Linked DNA regions of Homo sapiens: regions 1 and 3 are each linked to region 2. Evidence: promoter capture Hi-C in 16 types of primary human blood cells and fetal thymus (Javierre and others, 2016). All regions are on one chromosome and are shown on one strand. The core of a region is centred on a gene start or on the middle of the fragment in contact, and the rest is flanking DNA. Distances in the headings are between cores, read along the strand shown.

Evidence for each region. Contacts are between HindIII fragments. The CHiCAGO score rates a contact against its expected background, and 5 or more counts as called.
Region 1: a fragment that was not itself captured here is called in contact with the fragment with the promoter of SLC28A1 in region 2 in 3 of 17 cell types (M2 macrophages, naive CD4 T cells and total B cells); the score reaches 7.2 in M2 macrophages.
Region 3: a fragment that was not itself captured here is called in contact with the fragment with the promoter of SLC28A1 in region 2 in 2 of 17 cell types (M0 macrophages and M2 macrophages); the score reaches 7.2 in M0 macrophages.

What each region holds. Positions count from the first base shown.
Region 1 is chr15:84,619,306-84,622,990 of GRCh38, forward strand. It overlaps ZSCAN2 (zinc finger and SCAN domain containing 2), which reads left to right. Exons shown (of 3, transcript NM_181877.4): 3 at 1,297-3,685. The coding sequence ends at 2,735. Among named protein-coding and RNA genes, the nearest start is that of ZSCAN2, 20 kb to the left of the region's middle. The HindIII fragment of the contact is 168 bases long and covers 1,998-2,165 here.
Region 2 is chr15:84,882,606-84,886,016 of GRCh38, forward strand. It overlaps SLC28A1 (solute carrier family 28 member 1), which reads left to right and starts at 2,057. Exons shown (of 19, transcript NM_004213.5): 1 at 2,057-2,146. RefSeq lists enhancers at 1,136-1,636, 1,637-2,137. The HindIII fragment of the contact is 20,311 bases long and covers 1-3,411 here.
Region 3 is chr15:84,570,320-84,573,867 of GRCh38, forward strand. LINC00933 (long intergenic non-protein coding RNA 933) reads left to right here and starts at 330. Exons shown (of 4, transcript NR_038274.1): 1 at 330-415; 2 at 1,896-2,025; 3 at 2,703-2,932. It also overlaps the pseudogene UBE2Q2P1. The HindIII fragment of the contact is 4,246 bases long and covers 1-3,548 here.

The DNA of each region.
Region 1 (3,685 bases), core at 832-3,331, 260 kb before region 2:
TGTAGTCCCAGCTACTCGGGAGGCTGAGGCAAGAGAATGGCGTGAACTGGGGAGGCGGAGCTTGCAGTGAGCCGAGATCGCGCCATTGCACTCCAGCCTGGGCCACACAGCGAGACTCCGTCTCAAAAAAAAAAAAAAAATCTATTCATAAGCTCCCACTGCAGACAAATTTGAGGGCTCTTTTAACAATCCAGTTAACTTGCTTCTAGTCATTGGTATACACACCTAGGGTCCTTATTGCACGGGCTCTGTCATCTTTCCTGTGTCTAAATACAAAGTAATGCGGTCATAAACACCAGATACATGTCAATACAAGAAATTATTATATAAGCTCCTTTTGAAAGGAGACTGAGCTTTAGGGAAATGTCTATGGTACCAATAAAAAAACTCATTCATGCACTCATTACATTGAATCAAGCACCAGGCATTATGGTGAGTGTGGGGGTAATTGGGTAGGTACCCTGTTTATGTCCTTTAAAATTCCCACCTGACCTCATTTTCAGATGAAGACACAGGTAGTGGGGACATGGAACCCAAATCTTTAAGGCTTTGAAATTCTGGGTGATTGCCACAAAGATTATGAGGCCTGACAACCAGTCAGAATGAAATAAGCCTGGGTTGGTTTTTTTTTTTTTTTTTTTCCATCAGCTTTTAGGTTCAGGGGTACATGTGCAGGATGTGCAGGTTTGCTACAAAGGTAAATGCGTGCCATGGTGGTTTACTGCACAGGTCATCCCACCACCTAGGTATTAAGCCCAGCATCCATTAGCTATTCTTCCTGATGCTCTCCCTCCCCCTCCCCCACAGGCCCCAGGGTGTGTTATTTCCCTCCATGTGCTCATGTGTTCTCTTCATTCAGCTCCTGCTTATAAGAGAAAAGATGCAGTGTTTGGTTTTCTGTTCCTATGTTAGTTTGCTGAGGATAATGGCTTCCAATTCCATTCATGTCCCTGCAAAAGATATGATCTCATTCTTTTTTTTGGCTGCATAGTATACCATGGTGTATATGTACTACATTTTCTTCATCCAATCTATCATTGATGGGCATTTGGGTTGATTCTATGTCTTTGCTATTGTGAATAGTGCAGCATTGAACATGTGTGTGCATGTATCTTTATAATAGAATGATTTATATTCCTTTGGGTATATTAAACCTGATTATTAAAGGCTTTGAGGATTTTCTAGCCTCTTTGTGTTCACTGGAAGTTTAATTTTTATAAATTTCCCCCTTCGTTTTCTTTTGTCATCATGACAGGGAGTTGAGTAGACATTGTATGTTTTTCTTCATTGTTTCAGATTTTGAGATACAGAGTGAAAATGGGGAGAACTGTAATCAAGACATGTTTGAGAATGAATCACGTAAGATATTCTCGGAAATGCCTGAAGGTGAAAGTGCTCAGCACTCCGATGGGGAAAGTGACTTTGAGAGAGATGCTGGCATCCAGAGGCTCCAGGGACACAGCCCAGGTGAGGACCACGGGGAGGTGGTTTCTCAGGACAGGGAAGTTGGCCAGCTCATAGGCCTGCAGGGCACCTACCTAGGGGAGAAGCCCTACGAATGTCCCCAGTGTGGGAAGACCTTCAGCCGGAAATCCCACCTCATCACACACGAGAGGACCCACACAGGAGAGAAATACTACAAATGTGATGAATGTGGAAAAAGCTTTAGTGATGGTTCAAATTTTAGTAGACACCAAACCACTCACACCGGGGAGAAGCCCTACAAATGCAGAGACTGTGGGAAGAGCTTTAGCCGGAGTGCCAACCTCATAACCCACCAGAGGATCCACACGGGGGAAAAGCCCTTCCAGTGTGCCGAGTGTGGCAAGAGCTTCAGCAGGAGTCCCAACCTCATTGCACATCAGCGCACCCACACAGGAGAGAAACCCTACTCGTGCCCCGAGTGTGGAAAGAGCTTTGGCAACCGATCCAGCCTTAACACGCATCAGGGGATCCACACTGGAGAAAAGCCCTACGAATGTAAAGAATGCGGCGAAAGCTTTAGTTACAACTCCAATCTAATCAGACACCAGAGAATCCACACAGGAGAGAAACCCTACAAATGTACCGACTGTGGGCAGAGGTTCAGCCAGAGTTCAGCCCTCATCACCCACCGGAGAACCCACACAGGAGAGAAACCCTACCAGTGCAGCGAGTGTGGGAAAAGCTTCAGCCGCAGCTCTAACCTGGCCACACACCGGAGAACCCACATGGTGGAGAAGCCCTATAAGTGTGGGGTGTGTGGGAAGAGCTTCAGCCAGAGCTCCAGTCTGATTGCACACCAGGGCATGCACACAGGGGAGAAACCCTACGAGTGCCTGACATGTGGGGAGAGCTTCAGCTGGAGCTCCAACCTCCTCAAGCACCAGAGGATCCACACGGGAGAGAAACCCTACAAATGCAGCGAGTGTGGGAAATGCTTCAGCCAGCGCTCCCAGCTCGTAGTGCACCAGCGGACCCACACGGGCGAGAAGCCCTACAAATGCCTCATGTGCGGCAAGAGCTTCAGCCGGGGCTCCATTCTGGTCATGCACCAGAGAGCCCATTTGGGAGACAAGCCCTACAGGTGCCCTGAGTGTGGGAAAGGCTTTAGCTGGAACTCAGTCCTCATTATACATCAGCGAATCCACACTGGGGAGAAGCCCTACAAATGCCCCGAGTGTGGCAAAGGCTTCAGCAACAGCTCTAACTTTATCACACATCAGAGAACTCACATGAAAGAGAAACTTTATTGAAGTGGCAAAGAGTGAAAGTGAGGGACTGGCCTGGAGTGGGAGTTGCCACACTGCCCCAACAGTGATTCCCTTTCAAAGAGCTGTGCTTCCTAAACATTCTGGGGGGTTTTGCCAGAGTCTTCCCCTTGCTCATCCTCATTTCCAGGACACTGTCATTTTAGTGGTCTGAGTCAAGTCCCGTATACATTCAAGAACAGGGCATAGGCGTGGAAGGTCTGGAAAGTTGGGTCTTTTTCCCTTACATTGGGTGACTTGATTGGCCCCCTCTCATGATTCCTCTGTGCCTCAGTTTCCTCTTTGGTAAAATGGGGGGAAATGTTTCTCCATGTGGAATGGAAGACAGCATGGCCCACAACGTGGGCCGAGTCCTCAGAGAAATACTGGAAATCATTGGTGTGGTTCTGGTTGTTTTGTTGTTTTGCTGCCACGTTGTTGGGCTAAGGTGCCTTCACCCCAAGCTGTTAGTGTTCCAGGGCACCCCAAGCTGTCAGTTAGAATCTGCTCTTCTGGCTTTGGTGTCTTGGGCTTTGATTTCAGGTCAAGATGGAGGGGCTTCTCCAGTTCTGAGTCACCCACGTGAAGGTAAAGACCCTTTCTATTTCCAGAAAGTGTCAGGAGCACAGAAACTTGAGGAAGTACAGCCTGGAGCCAGTGTCCCAGTGTCCTTTCCATTGGTAAGAGTTGGACAGGGCCTTCAGGAAAGGGGTAAACCGAGGACATTTCAGTGCTTGCTTTTGTCTCTGCCTACTGTCCTGTGGTAGATCAGCTACCAGGGGAACACATTTGTTCTCGTGGGGTTTTGTCCTGGAGAGTGTAGTGAAGTCCGAGAGCCCTAGCTGCCAACCCATGGTGGATGGTAACTTCTGTCTCATCAAGAGTAAAACAGTCCTGCACACAGCAGGGTGGGTTTGTGCCTTTGGCCCAACAGGTACATAGCCCCATAATTTCTG
Region 2 (3,411 bases), core at 807-3,306:
CTGAGATTGCGCCACTGCACGCCAGCCAGGGAGACAGAGTGAGACCCTGTCTCAAAAAAATAAATGAATAAATAAAATGCTAATATGAGCTGGAGAGGCAAGAGGAATAGAAGGTAAAAAGAACAACAAGGGAAATACACTTTTTAAGTACAATCAATTAAATATTAAATATTTGGGAACAGTGAGCTCTGAACTGCTTGGGTAAAATTCGCCCTGCCTGGTGGCCTTAAGCACTCCTGCAGGTGGGACCCGGCATCCTAATTCTACCAGGCCTCTTGTTGCTGCCGTAGATGAGCCCCAGACTCGGCCTTCCATTTTGTATTGGATGATGACCACATGTGCCCAGATGTTCTCAGTGAGTAGAGTGGGTCAAGGAGTAAACTATATCGGAAACCGTTGGATAATCATGCCAAGCAGGCTGGGGGCTTCCAGCCTTTGGGGTACTGGAATGCTTTCTTCCCCTGGGACCAGCTGAACTAGCTCTGTAGTTGCCGGGAGAGCAGTGTGCTCTAACACTTGGGCTAGTCCGTTCCCACAGGAAAACTAGAAGAGTCACAAGCAAAGAGTATAAAAGCCCAAGATATTTCTTTAGTCTTTGTATTTAGCTCTATGTCATCAATTTTTTTTTTTACAGGGTCTCACTCCTGTCGCCCAGGCTGGAGTGCAGTGGTGTGATTATGGTTCACTGCAGCCTTGACTTCCCAGGCTTAAATGATCCTCCCACCTCAGCCTCCTGAGTAGCTGGGATTACAGGTGCACGCCACCACACCTGTCTAATTTTTTCTATTTTTTGTAGAGACAGGGTCTCCCTGTGTTGCCCAGGCTGGTCTTGAAGTCCTGGGCTCAAGCGATCTACCTGCCTTGGCCTCCCAAAGTGCTAGGATTATTGCTACTTTCCAATATTTCTACTACAGACTACGGGAAGTCCATTTTTCAATGCCAAATGCAGAAGAAAAAGTTGTATGGATGCCCTTTCTGCCAATCATCCCAGGTTTAGGAGAGAAGAATGATGAGGTCATGTTCATGGAACTTGACGAGTGATAAGCCTCTTTATTTGTCCAGTGCTTGGATACACGAATCGATGCAATGAAAGAGACCTCGCCTGTGAAGAGCTAAGAAATGAGTGTGGGCAGAATCATGAGAAGAAAATAAAGAGATTGCTGAGCAACTCTTCTGACAGTTCTTGTGCTTTTTGAATGTTTCACTCACTACTTATAAAATAACCTATTATGTCAGAGCCTGGCGAGAAGGGATCCTCTCCAACTCTTTGACTAATAATTCCCTAAAACAGGAGGTGGCCTGCAGAAGAACTAAAACCAGAAAAGTTAGGTGGTTGCCTCTGAGGAATGGGATAGAGTTGGAGGGGTGGAGCAGCCCCTTTACTGTCAACCCTTCTGAGCTCTGCTGGATGGTGAGGGAAATTATCTATGTATATTTATGTGGTCCTCTCCCCACTCTGCCCTGGCCTGGCTCAGCTCTAGGTCTCACTCAGCGGGCGTCTGCGGGTGTGCCGGGCCTCAGAGGCTGTCTCCTTAGGAAACAGGCCACCAAGAAGCCCAAGGACATGCTGAGGTCCCACAGCTGGAGGGGCACAGCCGGGACACCTGAGGTCCTCCAGCTGTTGGTCTTTCCCTGGGGTCTCCACCCCAATCTATCCAGCCTCCCAACTCCCCAGCCTGTGGCTTTTTGCCACATTCCACCTGAAAAGACCGCTTGGCTTCTGGGGTCTGGGATCCCTGCTGGCCATGCCTCCTTGAGAGGAGGAGCAGGGGAGAAGCCCGGAGTCTCCTGGCCTGGAGGAGGGGAGCAGTGTGTCAGGACACCCCGGATGGGACCTGTGACAGCAATGACACCTGCCAGCCTGATGCCGCTTGACTCCCTGCCAGGTACTTCCTAAGCAGGAGCACGCTGACTCCTCATGTGCTCTATTACCCACCACCAGATGAGGCAGCAAGTTAACTTTGGCAGTCAGGAGTGGAGACCTTTGGGCTCCAAGCTCAAGGTCCACCCCAAGACACACAGCCCATTAAATCCTTGTTGTAGAGATTAGGGCCCACAACGATGTGAAGGTTATAAGCTGCACTGCATGGTTGCTGCTGGATGTGTTGTGTTCCTGGCTTCCCTCTGGATGCTGACAGAAACAAGGGTGAGAGAAAAGGACAGTAGGAGAGGAGGGAAGGCGGGACTGAAGAAAGGAGGGGAAGGGGGTAGCACAGGGCAAAGTGGAAAAGCAGGTAGCGTCCTTTTTTTCTTCACTAGGGCTTGGCGAAGACCCCTTCGAGGACAGCTCCAGGCCCATCCCTGTGGTGGCCACCCATGGAGACAGTAGTGCTGCTCAGAGGCATTTAGTTTTTGTTTCTTTTCTGTTTTTGAGGTAGAGTCTCGCTCTGTTGCCGAGGCTGGAGTGCAGTGGTGTGATCTCTGCTCACTGCAGCCTCCACCTCTCGGGTTCAAGCAATTCTCCTGCCTCAGCCTCCCGAGTAGCTGGGACTACAGGCACCTGCCACCATGCCTGGCTAATTTTTGTATTTTTAGTAGAGACGGGGTTTCACCATGTTGGCCAGGCTGGTCTCGAACTCCTGGCTTCAAGTGATCTGCCCACCTTGGCCTCCCAAAGTGCTGGGAGTGCAGGCATGAGCCACCGTGCCCCCCCTCTTTTTTTTTTTTAAAGGTAGAGTCTTGCTCTGTGGCTAGTTTTCAATCAAGGTAACACATGGGCTCTCAACAGTGTGCGGAACTCTGCTAGAAAAATCAAATTATGAGAACACTGTTACTGTGTGATCCCCTATTGGAAAATGAATAACATAAAATAACATACATTTAGGAAAAAAAAAGTGGAGAAAAGGCCAGGCGCGGTGGCTCATGCCTGTAATCCCAGCACTTTGGGAGGCCAAGGTGGGTGGACCACCTGAGGTTGGAAGTTCGAGACCAGCCTGACCAACATGGAGAAACCCCATCTCTACTAAAAATACAAAATTAGCCAGGTGTGGTGGCGCATGCCTGTAATCACAGCTACTTGGGAGGCTGAGGCAGGAGAATCGCTTGAACTTGGGAGGCGGAGGTTGCAGTGAACCGAGCTCGCACCACTGTACTCCAGCCTGGGCAACAAGAGTGAAACTCCGTCTCAAAAAAAAAAAAAAAAAGGAGGAAAATGCCACACAAACTCAATAGTGGTCATCCCTGAGGGCTCAGATTCCGGGGACTTTAACTTCCCTCATTCTGTATATTTCTCTAATGTTTAAATGTTTAATGATACACTTGTAATGCTTTGGTAATTCAAATGACAGATGAAGAAAAAATGTTTTCAAAAAGAGGGGGTGTCCATCCACCATCCTCTCCAAACTTCCAAAACAACCAGGAGGTGCCGGTACTAGCAAGTATTTATGCATCATAGAGGATTTTGTCCTGAGC
Region 3 (3,548 bases), core at 257-2,756, 310 kb before region 2:
GCTCCCACCTCGGGGCGCGGTGACTGGGGCGAGAGGTGCCGGCAGCCCCCAAGCCAGCCCCGCAGCAAGGAGCCAGAGAGACGCGCCCTCCCCCTCCTCCCACCCAAGCCTCCCGCAGTCCCGGCGATCGGGGCCAGGCCAGTCGCGGGAGAAAGGTGCGCGCTCACCCGGCCCGGGGAACCGGGGCCTCTCCTGGGCAGGTTCCCCTTTGTCCCGGGACTCCGGGCTCTTCCTCTCCGCCCTCGCCCTGCCGTGTGAAGCCGCCGCTGGGCGCCTCACCGTGATGTTGCAGTGGAGCCTGAGCTGCCGCGGCGGCTCCTGGTTCTTGTGGAAAATAGAGGACAACAACTTCAGCTTGGCCTTGAACCCTGACACGGACATTTTACTCTCACCTCTGGCGGGAGGGGCGCGGAAGGTGAGCCGGTCGGGAGCCGCTGTCATGGCCGCGACCACCCGCGGGACCTCTCGGCGGCGCTCTCGCGGCTCCGCCTCTCCCCGCTGCCTCAACTCTAGTCGGAGTAGGGCTGGAAAATGGCAAGGGGCACCGAGGCCTCTGCGGGGAGCTGTGTGGCGGCCTGGGCGGCTGCTCCCCTTGTAACAGACTCCACCGACAGGAGGCGCTCCTCCTGTCAAGCCACAGCTTAAAAGGACAACAGCACCACCGCCCCCGCTACCGCCTGGGAAAGGGCTGCCCCTACCCCGCTCCCGTCCCTCTCGTCCCTCACCCCTCACCCCTCACCTCTCACCCCCGCGCGCCCGGTGCGCACCCGTTTCGGCGGGTGCACGAGTCCAGAGCATGTGCGCGCTTCCGGCTGCCCCCTCCTGGCTTTGACCCAGCACTGCTGGACCCATCTAGTCCGTTCCTCACACTCGCGGACTGGAAGCTCCAGGCTGCACAACCACCAACTGGTGTGTGTGTATTTAGGGGCGGGGGGAGGTACAAAACCACCAACTCGTGTGTGTGTGTGTGTGTGTGTGTGTGTGTGTGTGTGTGTGTCTCCCAAGGGAACAGCACTGCTGAGTTCAGGCTATCAGCTCATGGACTGTCAGCAAAATACAGTCACAAGAAGGCTATGTGCTGTTTTGTCTTTTGCAGTGATGTCATGTTGCTCATGTTTTATGTTTTTCAGAGTTCATTAGTTTCTTTTTGTTCTCAGTAATATCCAGCTCAATAGATTGTGTAAGTAGAATACCCCCAAACTGAAAGTCACCTACATAAAATATAGTGAAAAATATGTCACCCACTTAAACTATAGTTGAAAATATGTACTCATTAGTTTTGTGTAGCCAACACTGGATAATGGGTAAGGAAGGGCACAGGATCCCAGGGCTAGACTGCCTGGGTTCAAGTTCCGATTTAGCTGCTTGCTGGCTGTGAAATGCTTGACAGCTTTAAGCCTCAGTTTCTTTTTTTTTTTTTAACTTAATCCCAAATGTGATAGTAAGTCTCAGTTTCTTGATCTGAAAAACAGAAATTATTCAATGAGAGTCCATGTGAAAACTTTAAAGTTTTAAAGCCACTTTCTGGCTCAGGAAAGTCCTCAGCTTTAGCTGTTAAAGTTTTAAAAGCCACTTTAAAGTTTTAAAGCCACTGCCTGGCTCAGGAAAGCCCTCAGCTTTAGCCATTATTAGCTATGATTATTATTGTGCTGGCTACACATGCATTAATGAGGCAGGAAAATGCTCAAGGATAACAACCAAGTATCCAAATTATCTCATCAGACCGAAACAGATGCATATGTTTGCATGCTCATGTTTTAGCTCAGAGCCATTTGTCTAAAAGACTCTTGAACTCAGGGGTCCAGGCAGTATCAACTTTACTTTGCAGTGAAGCCATCACGTTTGTTAATCAATGAAAACGACATAATGCTCTTTTTTTTTTTTTTTTTTTTTAGCACCAACCATGTGCCTAAAGCTAACTGTGTCAAAAAGAGCATGCTTCGAGGGGCTGGAGTGAGCAATTCAACTTGTGGAGAAATAAGAAATAATAGTGTTGAGACAAGAAACATAAAACCGCAGGGTAAGGTAGGAATCACTGAAGGTCAGGCAAAGGAACTGGCATCCAGTAATGAGTCAGGCTTTGACGGCCTCTGGCCCTACAGATGGCTCTTTGGAGAGGAAAAAATTAAGCCAGGCCTGAGGCCACAGATCCTAAGGGACTGCTGGCAGCTCTAGGCTGTCTATGGAAGAGAAGCAGAGGGTGGCACCTGGTTGAAAGAGGGAGCTGGGGGGCATGGCTTGAGCCCGCATTTACAGATAGAGTCCCCTGATTCCTGCAACTGGGGAAGAAGAGCATGCCTGGATCAGGGGACCTCAAATCAGAACTCTTCCCACCCACACCCCTTCTTTTCAGGGCATCTTTCACTGCAAACAACAGATAAACTAGTTAGAAAGCTCAGCAGATTCTCAGGATGGTGCCTAGCGGGCAGGGCCTAGCTACCCTTTGACAGTGACTGAGGGTGATGCCACAGGCCCGTAAGCACACATTGGAAAATCTTTACATCCATGGACACGCCATGCCCCACAGAGACAGCTGTGCAGGGTTCTTTAGGTTTGGGGTGCTCTGCTGGCAGTTGCCTTATAAATATATAGGATTAAAATGGGATGCCCTGGAGCTTAGCTAACCTTTACACCCCACTCTAAAAGGAACGGACTGCTAGTTTTGTCTGCTTTATAAAAGATGGATCTGTCATTGTTTTTAGAACTTTTGGAGAAAGATTTCTTGGGAGGAAGCTATCCTGAACGCTTAGAGACTTTTCTCATTTACTGGCACACCAGCTTTAGAGTCCTAGGTCTTCATCCTGGCTCAGCCACCCTCCAGCTGTGTGAACTTTGAGAAGTTGCTTGACTACACTGAGTCTCGTTGTCACTATGAGTGGAGGTTGCTACGTTGCTACTGTGTGGAGCACCTACCCCCAAGCACTCTTATAAGGTGATGGTGAAGATTAAATGAAATAATACGGCTCAAGGGGGAGGATCACTTGAAGCCAGGAGTTTGAGACTAGCCTGGGCAACAAAGCCAGACCTCATTTCTATGAAAATGTTTTTTGTTTTCTTTTGTTTTGCTTTTTGAGATGGAGTCTCGCTCTGTTGCCCAGGCTGGAGTGCAGTGGCATGATCTCAGCTCACTGCAAGCTCTGCCTCCTGGGTTCATGCCATTCTCCTGCGTCAGCCTCTGGAGTAGCTGGGACTACAGGCGCCCGCCACCACACCCAGCTAATTTTTTGCATTTTTAGTAGAAACGGGGTTTCACCATGTTAGCCAGGATGGTCTCGATATCCTCACCTTGTGATCCACCTGCCTCGGCCTCCCAAAGTGCTGGGATTACAGGCATGAGCCACCTGCCCGGCCCGAAAATGTTTTTTAAAAAATTAGCTGGACTTGATGGTTTATGCCTGTATTCCCAGCTACTCGGGAGGCTGAGGTGAGATCATTTGAGCCCAGGAGTTTGAGGCTGCAGTGAGCCATGATCACGCCACTGCACTCCAGCTCAGGCAACAGAGAGAGACCCTATCTCAAATCAATGAATAAGTAAGTAAATAAATAAA